Linked DNA regions of Homo sapiens: regions 2 and 3 are each linked to region 1. The links are contacts of gene promoters, found by promoter capture Hi-C in human tissues and cell types (Jung and others, 2019). All regions are on one chromosome and are shown on one strand. The core of a region is centred on a gene start or on the middle of the fragment in contact, and the rest is flanking DNA. Distances in the headings are between cores, read along the strand shown. Region 1 holds the start of NKX2-8 (NK2 homeobox 8). Region 2 overlaps SFTA3 (surfactant associated 3). Region 3 has its middle 13 kb from the start of PAX9.

What was found. Contacts are between HindIII fragments. The study calls those that stand out against the background at their distance.
Region 2: a contact is called between a fragment that was not itself captured here and the fragment with the promoter of NKX2-8 in region 1, in 4 of the 25 tissues and cell types used here (H1 embryonic stem cells, heart right ventricle, mesendoderm cells and 1 more).
Region 3: a fragment that was not itself captured here is called in contact with the fragment with the promoter of NKX2-8 in region 1 in 9 of the 25 tissues and cell types used here (H1 embryonic stem cells, bladder, heart left ventricle and 6 more).

What each region holds. Positions count from the first base shown.
Region 1 is chr14:36,581,116-36,584,217 of GRCh38, forward strand. It overlaps NKX2-8 (NK2 homeobox 8), which reads right to left and starts at 1,499. Exons shown (of 2, transcript NM_014360.4): 1 at 1,118-1,499; 2 at 1-349. The coding sequence starts at 1,274. RefSeq lists enhancers at 1-79, 80-890. The HindIII fragment of the contact is 13,278 bases long and covers 1-3,102 here.
Region 2 is chr14:36,506,201-36,509,302 of GRCh38, forward strand. The region is part of intron 1 of SFTA3 (surfactant associated 3); the gene reads right to left. Among named protein-coding and RNA genes, the nearest start is that of NKX2-1-AS1, 12 kb to the right of the region's middle. RefSeq lists an enhancer at 2,593-3,102. The HindIII fragment of the contact is 4,246 bases long and covers 1-3,102 here.
Region 3 is chr14:36,647,340-36,650,441 of GRCh38, forward strand. No RefSeq gene overlaps it. Among named protein-coding and RNA genes, the nearest start is that of PAX9, 13 kb to the right of the region's middle. RefSeq lists an enhancer at 13-842. The HindIII fragment of the contact is 7,467 bases long and covers 1-3,102 here.

The sequences.
Region 1 (3,102 bases), core at 249-2,748:
ACGCGACGCAGCAGGCCGGGCGCGGCGTGCAGCTCGGCGGATGCTGCCAGGTCAGGCGACTCCGCCGCCCCTGGAGCGCGAGCGCGCTTCAGCTTGTAGCGATGATTCTGGAACCAGATCTTGACCTGCGTGGGCGTGAGGCGAAGCAGGCTCGCCAGCTGCTCGCGCTCGGGCGCAGACAGGTACCGCTGCTGCCGGAAGCGCCGCTCCAACTCCAGCGTCTGCGCCTTGGAGAATAGCACCCGCCGCTTCTTCCTTTTCTCGGCGTCCGAGCCCGGAGACGCGGGCCTAGCGGACGGCCGCTGCGACGAGTCTGGCGGGCTGGTCTCCAGGCTGCTCTCGTCCGAGGCTAGGGACAGCAAAGGAGACACGGGTGGGTGAGACGCCGGACCCTACGAGGGCCTGCTGCCCTTCTGGCGCGGGCGTGGAGGCACTGGCCAGAGGGCACGCCCACTAGCCCGAGACTTTCGGGATGAGGCCATTTCCTGAGTCCACATCTGGACATCCACCTCTCCGAATGCGGTGACCTCATTCATACCACAGCGGTCATCAGCGGGCCTGAGATCGTGCCCCGAAAAAACCCACCCCGGGGCCCTCTTAACATGTCCGCACCGGTAGTTGCGCTGGCCGACCAGTTTATCACAAGCTGGGTCACCAGCGCCGGCCTCCTCCAGGTCGACTGCACTGCAGTGTGCCGAGGTTTGCGGAGCCCTGAGTGGGAACGGGGTGGGGGTAAACTCGCCAACACTGGCCATCCCAGACGGAGGCCTGGAGATCGTGGCCGTGTTTTCAGGCATGGAGAGGGGGCGGGGGGTGGGGTGGGGGCGGCAGGTGGCGGCGCGTTTTAAATTTCAATTATTCCGACCTCTAGAAATCGTCAGACACAGAAACCCCAAATCTCGGAGCACCAGTGCCAGGCAGGGATCTGCTCTTAGGATGTGCCGACCGGGATGAATGCGTTAGGGGTTCGAGGACAGGGCTCCCGTTTCCAAGACTGAGGAAATCTAGACTCTGGGCTGGGATTTCGGCTTTCCGGCCCCTCGTGGGCTGGGCCCTTGATTCTGCTGCCCCACGCCTCCTACCTCCCACCCCGCACCGCAATCCACCACGCACTTACAAGGGTAGTGGCCGCGCTCCGAATCCAGCCAGGCGGCGCAGGGGTCGGGCTGGGGGGCGCGTGGTTCTGGCTCCCGCCTCGGCAGGTGTTGCGCGTCCTGCTCGGGTAAATCTAGAAGGCTGCGCACGGTGAAGCTCAGGCGTCCAGAGGTGGCCATGGCCGAGGAGGGGAAGGAGGCGGGGGCAGGGCAGGCTGGGAACGGAGGGGCGGCCGGGACGCCGCTCCTACGGATGGGCGTGGGAGGCGCTCGCCATGCGCTGGCAGCCGGGATATTAGCGCATTTACAGCGGAATCTCTGTTTATATAAACAGCTCTTCCCACCCAGGCCGCTTTGAAAGCCGAGGTCCGGGTCTCCAGGGTGTTAAGTACCTGAATGAGCACTGGACCAGAGCCGGGGCGAGCCCGGAAGGTGCCACCTCCGCCCCCGCCCCGCCCCGCACCCCGCCCCGCACCCCGCCCCTTGGCGCCCAGTTACCTCCCAGAGGCTGCAGGAAGCAGCATTTGGCATTAGCGATTCTGTCTGATTAGCCCAAAGTGGGGACAGATAATGGGGATTGTTACCAGTGAATAACATCTTGGGTGGCGAGCGGTGGCCACCACCCGCCTGACCCAGCCCCAGCTTCCTCCTCCTCCTCCTGGGCTGACTTGAGGCCAGGCCCCGCGGGAGCGCCGGGAAGGGTGGGGGTGGCAGGGGTGGGTTTATTAGCACCCAGGAATTTATTCCCTGTTTGCTTTATTCTTCGAGCTTGTTTGCTGGAGTGGTAGTTTCCCGCAATTATCCAGAAAGTGATTTACAAAGCGGCGTTAAACTCTGGCGCGCTCCCTTTCTCTTTTTGGTTGGGCCCCTCTAAGATTCAGGATGACAAGTTTCAGGAGGGCGTAAAGATTAGCCTGGCCCTGCCAGCATTGGCCCAGGGGTTTCAACGGCCGCTGGGAGCCTCGGATCACACCATACATCCCCCTAACAGCCTCAGAGGTGCTGAGGAAGGGCTGGGACAACATTCGGAGCCCCAGCTCCACGTCTCCACAGGCCGGCAAAACAGAAGAGGCTTGTAGCCAAGCTACTTAGGTCTACAGTGCCTGTCTCTTTGGCCCAGCTTCGCCCGGCCGCTGCCGATCTCGGAGCTCGGAGGCCGAGCTCCACAAATTTGGGTCCAGGCCCGCTTTAGAGCCCCTGGGCGGGGGCGCTTCTCAGGGCATCCTGTGAGGGCTTTGAGGCCTCCTTGGAGTCGCCAGATGAACTGGTGCCGCCTGTGCGCCTTGGCCCCATAGCCTCAACGGCACTCTCACTGCCTGGGCTTTGGTCTTTGCCCAGGAGCCTGCCCATGGCCTACGCTCCCCGCTCGCAGCATGGCAGACCCTGACGAGGCTGCCCGCCTTGGTCCGGGAATGGACCGATCGGGAGAATTAGGACAGGGCCTACCCGGCAGAAAATACCACCGGCCATGGGTTTCTCTGGGATCTTCTAGTTTCCACAGTTCCACCCTAGAAAATGATCAATGTAGGAGGCGCAGGGAACAGGCCGCCGTGGATACATTTTGTTGGGCCATGGCCTAGCTCTGGCCGCGCTTCAATCTACAGAGGAACGCCCTCTCAGAGGCCTCTCCTACTGAAGCTAGTAGTTTGGATATTTAGTTGCTAAATTGTAGCGAAGGGCTCTGTACTTGGGTGGCTGCACCAGAAGTCCTGGCTCCTCCCGGGCTGAACTCGAACCTGGCTCGGATGCGGCGGCGGCGGCCCTGTCAAGCCCCGCGCACCCTCCCCAGCAGCCTCCCTATCAAGCGTGCCCGAGGTGCCCGGAGCTGCACCGCGCGCTGGGTGGTCGGGCGGAGGCAACCCCAATACAGGCCAACTGCTAGGCCGCGGACAAAGGGGAAATGGAGCTCGACGCCCCGGACCTGTTGGAAGCATTTGTTCCAGTCAAGATTTTGCATTTGTTCAGTCCGGAATAATGCATGATTGACGTCTGCTCACAATGCGCTTTA
Region 2 (3,102 bases), core at 434-2,933, 75 kb before region 1:
CGCGGAGAATAAAGGGGGCGCTGTCCAACCTCAGGTTCGGGGAAAACCAAGGAACCAAGGGACTCTTTTTCTAAAATGCCCTCTCCAAACTACAGGGAGGAGGAATGGGACACGTGTGCAGAAAAAGAGTTTTGCCTGTCTCCACAGAAGTTTCTAGAAGCTATTTCCCCTCCCCTTGGCCTTGCCCTCTGCCCCCAGGTTCCCTTGAATATGTTCCTCCACGGGGTACAGAACCCGGAGCGATCCAGGATGGAGGAGCAGGCTGGAGTTCGGCTGGCGAACTCCCAGTCCTGACCCCTGGGCTCCACAGTCTTTCAATTTGCTCTGGCAGGACAGTCCCCCTTCTTAAAGCCCGGAAGAAGGGAAGGCAAGCTTTGCTAGTTTTTGCCCCTCAGCTCAGAGACAGACTGCCATACACACATCTGCTTCCCCCTTATCCCTCTCTATGCCCCTCCAGGGGAGGCATATGCCTTGGGTCCCGGCTGTACTCCCTCCTCCCCATCTACTGACATTAATTGATTTTCTCCAGGCTGCGGCTTCTCTTTGCTTCTATCGTTTTTCTCCCTAGTCCTTTGATAGGCTGACCTTGGCTCTTCTCTGGTCTTCTTACTCCCCAACTGGTCTCCCATATGGACCTTACTGGCTTTCATTCTTTATTACTTAGCCTATCCACTTTCTCTACTTTTCCTTTTAGTACTGACATTAGGATAAACAATACCGAATTGCCTATAAAGTAGGATTGCAGCCATGACTGGAGTTGGACAAGAAAGCAAAGAAAACATCGGCATTGGAATAAAGAAATGGAAAATGGGGAAGGATGAAGAAACAGAAGAAAAGTAGATAATAAAGTCACACCAGGTTGTAAATACAAGAATAAGATGCTTGATGTTCCTGCACATGATCTTGGGGTCCTAATGAGGGTCTCACATACCTACACTGGGGAGGCAGGAGGGGTCTCCCTGAGGAGGGCAGGGTGAAGTTTCTTCTCCCTGACTGGGATTGCACCTGAAGACTTGGGCTAGCGAGCCGCTGTATATCCTGGATCCGGGAAGGTGTGAAGGGATCAACCACCACTTCTAGAAATAGTCATGTGGGCAATATATCTCTATGGGGTTTTCAGATGGCTGCAACTTCCTACCCTGGATCTCTGCTGCTCTTGGGCACCACATTCCTGTCCACCCAGCCAAGCCTGGTCTGAGGCTGTGTCCTTAGTCAGGGGAGCCTGTTTCCCTTTCCCCTGGCAGACTAGGTCCTGTGGGTCCCAGCGTCCTCTTCACCTCCTGCCAGTTGTAGGAGTTCTGTCCTCCCATTTTGCGGAACCAGGGAGCCTGTGGGAGGCCTTACCTCCACTGCCAGCCCCACCTCACCCCAGGGCAGATTAGTGCCTCTGAGCCACTCAATTATCCGCAGGATGGGTGGGGGGGGGGCGGGGAGGGGAATCTAGAATTTATAGCTGGGGGTGGAAGGCGCAGTGAGGGAGGTACAGGGAGGAAGAGTGAAATATTTAGATCTTTGGGGTTCCTGCCATTTGGCCCCTATTAAAGAGAACCCTGGGGCTTTTAGAATGAGTTTTGCATGAAATTGAACAAGCAGGGCCATGAGCTGTACAGAATCCCACCTCCACCCCCCAACATACACACACCTTATTTATTGGTTCTTCTGAGATCTTCCCAGACGCAAAAACTCTTTACAAGGATATCAAAAAATACAACACCTGCCTACGAGGCACCACTTTGAGGAAGCTAATAAATTACCCCCCTTTGAAACAAAAATGGAATCAGCATTAAGCACATACTATTATTAGGTTGAGTTTCAGTCTCCTAGAAAATTCGTTAGATGTTGATATCTGGGGAGAGAAGGAATCTCTCTTTTCCTTAAGAAAATTCACGAGGGAAACAGCAGTAGTTCGCTGGCTTTGTTTGGTTTCGTTTATTTGTACAAAGAAAGATTGTGCGTTAAGATCTTTTTTAAAAATCCCTGCAAGTTAGAGTTTGCATCATCGTCGTGACCTAGTGAACTAATATTTGTATATTCTGGGATCGAAATTCCGAGGAAGTTTCTGCTCTTCCGCACACCAGACTTGCCGGTGTGGTCTCCAGGAGGGGTTGGGGGCCGCGTCCTCAGGGGGCGCGCGGCCGAGGCTGTTCCCAGCGCGGGAACGGGAGGGAGAACCTGGGCAGGGGCGGGGCGGGGCGGGGCGCGGGGACCTGGGTACGCGGAGACGCGGGGCGGGCGGGGGCCGAGAGCGAGGCTGCCGGCTGGGTGTTGGGAGAGAGGCCGCGGGTGGACGGGGTAAGGACTGGGACTGGGGAGACTGAGAGCTGGGGGGTGCGGGGAGGATGAGGCTGCGGACAGGAAACGAAGGGCCTGGGACAGCTGCTTCTCTTGGTCCTAGAAACCAAACTTTCGTAGCGAGAGACCCTAAGACAGCTCGAGATTTCAAGTGTCCACACTTCTAGTTTAGACATTTGGCAACCAATTCGGAACAGCCGGGCCGCGAGGGGCCCCCAGGTCTTTGGCGGCGTCGTTGGGAGGCCGCGGAGTTGTCCCTGGGCTTCCCTGAAGGCCCCGCAGACTCCCCGCCAGTCCCGGCCACACCCAGCCAGGGCTTTGCAGCTCCAGCCTGAGAATGTTAGCCCCGGCAACCCCTTCTGGCGGTTGTTCCTTTAAAAACCAATTCATTTTTTCCATCAAGTCTTCTACCCAATGGGTAGACTCTTCGTTAAATGACTGTTAACCAGTACTGAGGAGAAGCACAATCAACATAGTTTCTCTGTCACCTTTCTTGCCGGTTTTTTCCTCCCAACCATGGAGTCTCCATTTTCTAAGCAATTAAATTATATATTCAACAGGAACATTCCATTTAAAATGGTTCGGGACAGAAGACTGATGCACAAGGTCTGAAGCTGGAAGAAAATATTTAGTGCTTGCCTACAGATTCTGTCACCCATCATCTGCTCGGAATGCGCTCCGTATCTTTCAGCGTGTCCGGCTCTTATGATTGCAAATGGCCCTGTTTTCAAATGGAAATAAGACTTGCAAACTGATTATGTGTATTGAATCAGAATCACTCGCTAGATCCTCTTGTTTAAAATGTATTGA
Region 3 (3,102 bases), core at 156-2,655, 66 kb after region 1:
GTGGGGAGCGAGTGGGTCCCGCCCGGCCGCGGCCTGGACCTGGCAGCCGGGCTTCGTGGGCGCTCTGAGCCGTGGCCCGTGGCGCGGGGTGATCCTTGTGCCTGGCGCCGGCCTCAGAACCCCGTTTACGGCTTTCCGCGCATACGGAGGTTGCTGGGGACCCCGACACCTGCGCGCCCTCGACTGGGGCCCGCTCCAGCAGTGAAGACCCAGGCCCTTCCCTGGGCCGTGGCTGCTCTTGGTGCCTCATGGGAGCGCCCGGGGTAGGGACTCGGCTAGTGACCTGTAGGACATGAGGGGCGAGCTGGGAGCCGATTCGCCCACGGCGTCTCCTTCGCCATGGAGGCCCCCCACCCATTCCACTCCGGGGTTGCGGCCACGCACCATAAGAGCACCTTCAGGTCTGAGCTCTTTAGGGGTGGGAGTAGGCAGTTCGTGAGTCCGGGAAGGCCTGCGGGGTTTCCCGCCTGCTGCGGACTTAGCGTGGGGCCGACCGGGGCTGGCGAGGGCTGGCGAGGACTGGCGGGGACCCGCGGGGCTGAGCCAGCTCTCGCGAAGCCCTCAAGTGAGGAACGGCGCTTGTGGCTGCGCGCTCTCCGCAGCCAAGTTGCAGGGTCCAGCAGGGGCTCAGGTCCTGTTCCCTCCGCAGATCCCGGATCTAGGGCTCTAGTGGTCTCGGCCGGAGGGAAGGTGACGCGCAGTGGGCGCAGACGCAGAGTGCGGGGCGCCGAACGTGGGAAGGAGCGGGTTCAGCGCGCTGGTGAGAGTTTCAGGAAATCCGGGAGAGGGCGGTATTTACCAGTCCCTTCCCCGAGAGCAACCAGGCAAATCGGGGAAGGTTAGAGGTGGGGGACCTGCCTGAGCCGGGACAAAAAACTTTGGAGCTAGGGCCTTCTAACCCTGGAGACTTGCCGACTCCGGGGCGGGCTCTCGCACTCAAGTCCCGAGATGGGATGATTTTCCAACTTTCGTCCAGCCTCTCCTTCCGCTCCCGCCGCTCTGCTAGCACTCCCGCACTCTCTCCCTGGGTCACAACCCTCGCCTGCGGAATACCTGTCTGAAGGGCGCGTCAGTAGAAGCTTCGTTTCATACTACCTTTCTTACTGTTCTCTTCATCTAAATCGCAGGACATTATTCTCGGCTTCATTTCCACATAGCATTCGGCAGTGGACAAGGAGTAGGCGGACCCGAACCTGAACCTGACAGCTGATGCCGTGAAGTGGACACTTGAAGTTCTTGGTTTGGCTTTAGGGAGCGTTTAGGGAATGTGTTAGGCAGCAATCGGGCAAGCATGAGCTGTAGCCCAACCCTTCCCTCCGTGGGAAAATTCAAGTTAGGACGCAATGCGAGGCCTCTTAAATCTTTAAGATCCTCGGGTCAGCTCAAAGAGTCTTTAGCAATTCGTTGTTTTGTCTTGAGACCATTATCGGTCCCTAAGCACCTAATTATTTAATGGCAGCCCTCTGGGTATATCGGGTAGACTGATAGGTCTTATCTAACATTCAAACACAAGTTTCTGGAGGAAACTCTCATCTGACTTCCTCCTTTCCCACCCGCCGCCCACTGTCATTTATTTTATTAAATGGAACCCATTTAAAATCCAAATTTATAATTATTAAAAAGCAGTCTTATTACATATTCTTGAAGATTTGGTTGTGTACGATCATTTAATCATGTAGTTTAATTTCTGTGTTGTTCCCACATTGCCAACTTGATGGAGGAGAGCAGACCCGAGGACTTTTCAACCTCCAATAAAAAAGAAGAGGACTTTATGGCTGGGGTGAAAAGGGGCTGGTGAGCTACGACAATGGGGCAGCATAGCTTTACTATGTGCAAAAGCATTCAGACACATGGCGACCCTTTTGCAATAAAACTTTATTGATGATCGTTTGAAAGTTATGGCAACTCCAAGGTTATAAAACTTGTCATAAAATACCAAGCAGTCATTAGTTTACCTGACCTCATTTCAATATAAACTTCCACAAAACATTTTATTTTGTTCCTTCTTATAAGTGGAGAAAAGAAGTTGAAGAGGTTAAATACAGCGGCCCATTATTGAGGATCCAAAATCTGCAATTTGACACTCTGACCTTCATCCCTGCAAATAAAGCAGTAAAATTTACATTTTATTCTTTAATGTTCCGTTATTGCAGAAAAGTTAATAGTGTGTAAATGTTATTGTAGAAAAGATAATAACAGCTATGTTTTAGTTCCAACTGCCCATTTTTAGCACATAACCTGTGTTTAATTTTGGATGGAGACTTTTTCCTCTTTGGAAGATTTGTAAGATATATTTAACAATTATTAAAGAATATTTGCTCCCCGAGCTATGCAATAGAAGTCTAAGAAGCAAATGGCCACATGTTGTCATGTGACCTGAAGAGTTGTTCAAAATATTCAATTAGTATTTACAGCTATTGAGAGGTTAGATGACTAATCACTACCTCTTGCCACCCTCAGTCATGAGCTTAAAGAAAGGCAGCTGCCCTGAGATTGGCACGTACAACTATACTACAGAAAATAACCCAAACTGATGTTCCAAGAAAGCTCCAGGAGATAAACTGGAGTTTGTCAAAATCATCATTTCTGGTCCAACTGTATGAGTGGACTTAAACCATGGATCAGAGAACAGCCACAGAACACTGATAACTTTGAGTGGCTTCTCATCGCTCCAAACTCCACTTTGGATTGGCTGAAGCTCGTGTTTCCTTAATGCTGTGTAGCTAAGGCCAATCTACCTGCTTTTGGGGATTTGTGAGCAAGTACAGATGGCAAAGGTTGACTTTGTGTTAGCTGCATGGTGATTTCTCCAAAACATGTAAAAGTCTGGATATACTTTTTCACGGATTGTTTAAAATATAAGCTCCAAGATTGATCCAGGCATATATGCATTTATGATGGGTTTAGGAATCTAGATGAAGAAAGCTAACTCTTTAGGACCTCGCTGGAACTCTTCTTGGTAATGTTATGCTTAGTTTCCTGGTGTGCTTTCAAGTATTTCATGGAATTTTAATGAGAAAACAACATTTTAAAAACCAAAATCTTATGTAAAATGCTGCTTTCTTCTAGGGAGTGTATGGGTGCAGAGTGTGTGTGTGTGAG